2 separate regions of the Homo sapiens genome follow, and region 1 is linked to region 2. The links are contacts of gene promoters, found by promoter capture Hi-C in human tissues and cell types (Jung and others, 2019). All regions are on one chromosome and are shown on one strand. The core of a region is centred on a gene start or on the middle of the fragment in contact, and the rest is flanking DNA. Distances in the headings are between cores, read along the strand shown. Region 1 has its middle 27 kb from the start of CALCB. Region 2 holds the start of CYP2R1 (cytochrome P450 family 2 subfamily R member 1).

Region 1 (3,519 bases), core at 729-3,228, 150 kb before region 2:
GGTGAAATGTCATTAGGGTTAATGGTGATGGGCTTACATTAGGCATCAACTCAGGGATATTCTGTAGCATTGGGGAGCTCTCCTGCCAGATGCAACATATGTATTAAACCAATAACTTACGTGTTGTGCTGTGTCCTCAGTAGCTAGAAAAGACAACTAAGATGTGGAAATAAGATTGTCACCTCTCACCATTACTCCCAGGGACATACAAGTAAAATTTGATGCTTTCCATGCCCACAACCTTAGGTTCTGGTATGGATCTCATGAAATCCTGGTAGACAAGAAGCATATATTTGGACTATATGAAAGACAACTGGTTAAATGACAAAAACTAAAAGACACTGATTGATTGACTTCAAACTGGAAAGGAATTTCTAGTGACATGTCATAAAGCCACATGAGCATTTGGATCAGTGGTTTGGATACATCTATTGAATAGCTCATTTAGCATATACATGTTAGGACTCAGAGGACACCTTGGTTCTCAAAGGAAGGAATATTTATCATTGCATAACTGATAGTCTTAGCACCAGACTGGACTTTTTAGTCCAGCTTGACATTTTAGGCATAGTTTAGTGAGCAACTTGAGGCCTGTGGCTTCAGTCAAAATCCTGATATTTAAAGATACTCGAGGCACCTCTATTTTTGTCTCTTTGGAAGATTTATTCTTGAATTGTATCTTTGTGTGCCTTATACACTTCACTATTCCATTATCAGAAGAATTATTATTTTTTGTGGAGATATTTTATGTGAGCAATACACAGACAGATCATCACTGATATCTCTACTTAAAGAAAGCCTCTGCTTGTTATACCTATATATTCCTAGGATATCTAGAATATGGTCTCCAGTAAGAGATTTAAGAAAAAATTAGACAACTCTAATTAAAAAAAAAAAACAAAGAGATCCAGGGAAGTTGTTTAAAATAAAGGAGAATTTAAAATGTTACCAGTAAACATTCACTGATGAAATATTCATAGAGACAGCTGCTCTAAGGACAAAGGTCTGTTTAAAGTTAAAGCATAGTGTTAATGCATGCAGTTCAATGGAACTTGTACCCTGAAGAATTACAGAGACTATACTGACAGCAAGATTCTGTTTGGAGAATAGGGAAAAATCCAGAAAGACCCAGAAAAAAGAGTGAATCCAGAATATCTGTATTAAAAAATTGGTTAGTGGACAGAAAACTACCAGGATGCCTTAGTCTGCAATGTGAATGAGTAAAAATGCCTTCTACTTAACTTGCCTCAAAGTTTTTATTTTTTATTATTTATTTATTTATTTATTTATTTATTTATTTATTTTGTTTTGTTTTGAGATGGAGTCTCACTCTGTCCCCCCATCTGGAGTGCAGTGACGCAATCTCAGCTCACTGCAACCTCTGCCTCCCAGGCTCAAGCGATTCTCCTGCCTCAGCCTCCCTAGTAGCTGGGATTACAGGTGCCTGCCACCACACCCACCGAATTTTTGTATTTTTAGTAGAGACGGGGTTTCGCCATGTTGGCCAGACTGGTCTCAAACTCCTGACCTCAGGTGATTTGCCCGTCCCGGCCTCCCAAAGTGCTGGGATTACAGGCATGAGCCACTGTGCCCAGCCGCCTCAAAGTTTTTAGCTCATCTTCCTTCAGAACACAGTTTCTAACTTCAGATACTATCAACTGTGCTCAGAGATACAGTTCTGGCTGGGCTGGGTGTTGTAACTGTACCCATATATAACCTTCCACTCAAAGGAAGAATACACAATTGTACTCAATTTTTTTAAATGCTTCTAAAACCCTTCACTGATTCTTAGCATAAAAAGTGTCCCTTTAAAACTAGGCTGTTTTAAGGGGTGGTGGACTCTGAGGAGGTGGCATGTTATATATGAAGAAATTATCAGAGATCCTGAAAATATGATTCTATTTTATGTCTGCAGCATTCTGGCATAGTTGCTGTGTATGCTGCCAAGTATTCTATTCATGGGGTAGAGCTGTTGTGTGGGGATGGCGAGGGGAGTTAGTTTTCTGTGTCAGTGAAGATGACACAACAGCTGGCAGGTGGCAACTGACATGACCACTCTGTATGACCATTCAGATTTGTTCAAGCAAGAAGACATGAGACAAAGATACACTGGCTGGCAATTCAAGCAAGTTCTCACTGAGCTGAATATCTTGCTCTGGTCTGTTTACTGGGCTTTTGTTCGATGCTTTGAAGTCTAGAAACTCATTTTTTTTTCAGTCCACCAGGGTTGACCAGACTTGGAGAACTGACTCTCATAAATTGAACTCACCAAAACCTGAGGTATGTAAGGTTTACAATGTATGCCTTCCTCTTTCCAAGGACCAGAATTTATGCCACTTTTTGGAGCTTACTCTTCCTCCTATCAAGATACCTGAGAAGCCAAATTAGTCATCAGGATCTTTCTTAGTGAACAGGAAAAAATAAGGTACAAGAAAGTTGATAGCCAACAGGGATATTTTATCTCATCACTAACAAAGGCTGGTAAGATCCTACCCACAAAAGAGGATCAGAACCCTCTGATAGATAATCTTTGTTTCCCTGGGATAATACTAAACTGACAGTGATAAATTCTTATCTTCTAGTTTTCCTTCTTATAGACTTCATGTAGGATAATTCTACAAAACTCAACTTCAAACAGCTTTCAAAATTTGTTTATTTATACAAATATTCATTTATTACAAATATTATGTTCTCTTCCCCCTCAAAAAAGGGTAGTATTGTCAAAGTCACAATATTTAGTGATGAGTAGGCAGTAATTGTGTGACATGGTAAATTCTAAAATAATTCTCTGGGTGCAAGGTAGAACTGGTTTTAAAATTGCTGAGGTGTGTTGGGGAAAAGGGAATGATGACTTAATACAATAATCAGTTAGTTTTGCATTGGAGGGATGAACAGTCAGATTGAAGAGGTTATGAGTCTTTTGGATTGTGGCCATATTTCCCCACATCTTTTGACACTCATAAATGCTGTTGTGGACTGAATGTTTGTGTCCCCCCGAGATTCATATGTTGAAGCCCTAACCCTCAATGTGGTAGCATTTGAAGGTAGGGCCGTTGGAGATAGCTGGGTTTAGGTGAGGTCATGAGGGTGGGGCCCCCATGATGCATACCATAAGAAGTCTGTAAGTTCTTAAGTATGAGAAGTATACTTCTTATAAGTATACTTGTAAGAAGAAGAGACACCAGAGCTCTCTCTCTTCTCTTTCACACAAAGAAGAGGTCATGTGAGCACACGATGAGATGGCACCCACTCAGAGAAGAGGCATCAAAATGAAATCTACCTTGCTTGCATCTTGGTCTTGGACTTCTAGCCTCAGGGACCAGAGAAATAAATTGTTTACTGTTTAAGCCACCCAGTGTATGGTGTTTTGCTATGAAGCCCAAGCAGACTAAGATAAATGCCATCTGCAATAAGATCACACACATTGTTATATCTACCTTCCCTAAGTGATTTTTGCTATACTTTTTGCTGGCCCATCTGGCCACAAGCAGATCAATTCTTAACCACTATTCCTTGGCA
Region 2 (3,336 bases), core at 255-2,754:
ACAACGATCCTTATAAGTGGAAGAAGGAAGTAGAAGAGAGATAATCAGAGAGACAGCGATGTTGGAAGGATTCAAACTGACATTAATGGCCTTGAAGAGGAAGGAATGGGGACGAAAGCCAAGGAATGTGGGCAGCCTCTAGAAGCTGAAAAAGACAAGGAAATAGAATCTCTCCTACAGTCTCTAGAAAGAATGAAGCCCCACTAACACCTCTCTGTCAGCCCTGGAAGACTCATTTTGGACTTCTCACCTCAAGAATTGTAAGAAAATAAATTTGTGTGGTTTTAAGCCATCAGATTGGTGGTAATTTATTACAACAGTAGTAGGAAACAAATACACTTCTTTAGCAGTTGATCTCAGCTCCAATGTCATCTTCCTAATAAGACTTTCCTTGACAGCCCTTGCCTGCTAAAGTATCTCCCCAACCACCAGGCGTTTTCTATAACGCACTTTTTGTTTGCTTCTGATTATTGAAAATTATTGTATTTCCATGTCATTGCTCTTCCCTCTCATAAGAATGTAAGTTATAGAAAGGACTTTGTTGCTCTTATTCACCTATGTATCTCCATTGCTTAGGACATGGGAACATAGTAGACATTCAATAAATATTTGTTGTGTGAATGAGTCGTAAGCTAATGAGGACCATAAAACTCATGCCACTGCTAAATCACAATTAGAGGGCAGCTGTTAGAAGAGTCCCAAACCCAGTAAGTCCTGTATTGCAAGGAACTGCCCAATAGAAAACAGGAATAAAAACAATTAGCAAGAATAATATGAAATCAGTTGCTTAATTCCAGGCAGTGGAGGCAGAAATCTTGAATAGTAAATACTCTCCGTGAACAAGTGCAGACAAGAGTCCCGTGATTGCCAATAAGTAATCAGTTTGGAAAGACCAGAGAGGGGTCAAATATAGGTAAACTGAGTTAATCACATAAACTGCTCAATCATCACAATTATTAAAAGATCACACACAAAAATACATTAACAGGAGAAAAATAGTAAAACAGGACAAAACAGTAAAATTACTTTCTTTTACTACTGATGGGTCAATTTTCTACTGGAAATTCTGAAAAGTATCAGGTTCAGCTAAAGACTGCAGTGTTGATCATCTCTCCAGTTTTCCTAGTGTGAAATGAAATAAGCAGACCTGGTACTTAAAAAGACACTTTAAGAAAGGTCTGGCCCCAGAGAGGCAGGATCCGCCTAGCCCAGTGAGTGAGGCCGTCCTGACACCTCGTCAATGCCCTTGTGTCAACATTCTAGAAAACGGACTCCTGGCTCATTGCTCCGCCTAGAGCCGCGCCACCTCCAAAGGGTAGCACCGGCCACCCGCTCCGCAAAGTCCACTCTCAGCCGCGCAAAACTAGAAGGTAGTTGTCCCGAAGGGGCCTGAGCGCTCACTCAGTCAGCCAATGGCCACGGAGCTAGGGCGGGACCTGAGGGTATCCTGCCAATGGGAGTATGGCAGGGCTGGAGGGAGTGCCTGGGTCTCAGGGCTGCTGTGGAGTTCGCACCTCCAGCTCGGGCCGATGTGGAAGCTTTGGAGAGCTGAAGAGGGCGCGGCGGCGCTCGGCGGCGCGCTCTTCCTGCTGCTCTTCGCGCTAGGGGTCCGCCAGCTGCTGAAGCAGAGGCGGCCGATGGGCTTCCCCCCGGGGCCGCCGGGGCTGCCATTTATCGGCAACATCTATTCCCTGGCAGCCTCATCCGAGCTTCCCCATGTCTACATGAGAAAGCAGAGCCAGGTGTACGGAGAGGTACAGCCCCGACGGGCCCCGGGCAGGGAGGGCCGCCAGGCTGGCCCGGGCTGGCCAGGGCCTTCCTGGTTGGACTTATGGCCGCCCCTGGGCCGACTAGTCGGGACCTCTCCGTGTGCCGGCTGCCCTTTGAGGGACACCCGCTTCCCGGGTCTGGAAGGGAGAAGTCCTCGACGCCGTGCCCCCTTGCAGGGGGAGCCCCGCCCCTGCCGGTGACCCACTCCGGGCCGAGGCTCCGAGGCGATCCAGTCCTGATTTTCCCGCTACCGCTCGAGCTCTTGCTCCTGCGCCTGCGCCGTTTGGCTCGCCAGCCGCGCCGCCACTTCAGGTCCAGGGTGGACGCATGCCCTCAGGTGCGGGCGTCTTGCGAGTCGGCCTCGCAGCTCTGTGGAAGCTGCACGCGGCTTGTCGGAAAATCAAGGCGTTCTGAGTTCTAGATGGTTAATAGCAGGTTCTTCGGTGTCTGCAGTCGACGAACGACTGGTGTAGGCGTTTGCTGTGAGAATGGAGAATGCAGGGGAACGCCCCTGACTGAGAAGCGGGCCCTGGGAAACGATTGTGAACGCGTGAATGAATTGATGACTAAAATCCGCTGCGGGGGTCCTACAGCGCAGATGGTAATGCCGTTCTGACTGGCTGGGAACGGCACCTTAGCAGATACTTAAAAGGCGCCTTCTGTGTGCCACTGTCACTGCCAACTTGGTGACTCATTTAAAACTCATAACCAGCCGGTGAGGTCGGTACTTCGCTCCTCCTCATTCTGCGGAGGGGAAAGCAGCACGGAAATGCCCTGTGACTGGCAGCGGAAAAGGCGACCACCGCTTGTGTGTGGGTGTCCCGACGTCCGGAGGGGGCAGGAGTTTCCACGGGTCCTGGGACAGAGCTCACCTGTTTTGTTTTGAATTACACTTATTTATATGCAACTACAGGCCTGACGCTAGCGGTGAAGAAGGCAGATACAGCCTTTTAAGGAGTTGGCAGATGAGTGGGAGAGAGAAAACTAATCTCATTATCGGCCACAGGCTGTGGTCAGTGTTTTGAAGGAAAAGTACAGGGATGTTTGGCAACTGTGGTATTTCAGGTTTGACCTTAAATCCTTACTTAAACCAATTTTTACAAGGATTGGTCTAGGTGCCCGGGCGCGGTGGCTCACGCCTATAATCCCAGCACTTTAGGAGGCCGAGGCGGGCGGATCACGAAATCAGGAGATCGAGACCGTCGTGGCTAACACGGTGAAACCCCATCTCTACTAAAAGAATACAAAAAATTAGCCGGGCGTGGTGGCGGGCACCTGTAGTCCCAGCTATTCGGGAGGCTGAGGCAGGAGAATGGCGTGAACCCGGGAGGCGGAGCTTTCAGTGAGCCGAGATCGCGCCACTGCACTCCAGCCTGGGCAACAGAGCCAGACTCCGTCTCAAAAAAAAAAAAAAAAAAAAAAAAAAAGAATTGGTCTAGGTTTCTAGAATAGAAAGTCACTAATGGTTTACGTTCCTTTCATGGTTCACGAATAGTTTACGTTGTTAAAGGGAAGCTGGACGAGATAATAAAGGTATGTATAATTCTTAGATCTTATTTTCCAACC

Evidence for each region. Contacts are between HindIII fragments. The study calls those that stand out against the background at their distance.
Region 1: a fragment that was not itself captured here is called in contact with the fragment with the promoter of CYP2R1 in region 2 in 1 of the 25 tissues and cell types used here (IMR-90 fibroblasts).

Annotation. Positions count from the first base shown.
Region 1 is chr11:15,044,636-15,048,154 of GRCh38, reverse strand. No RefSeq gene overlaps it. Among named protein-coding and RNA genes, the nearest start is that of CALCB, 27 kb to the left of the region's middle. The HindIII fragment of the contact is 5,872 bases long and covers 1-3,519 here.
Region 2 is chr11:14,890,399-14,893,734 of GRCh38, reverse strand. It overlaps CYP2R1 (cytochrome P450 family 2 subfamily R member 1), which reads left to right and starts at 1,504. Exons shown (of 5, transcript NM_024514.5): 1 at 1,504-1,754. The coding sequence starts at 1,530. It also overlaps a transcript of PDE3B not described here. RefSeq lists a silencer at 1,757-1,996. The HindIII fragment of the contact is 8,315 bases long and covers 1-2,766 here.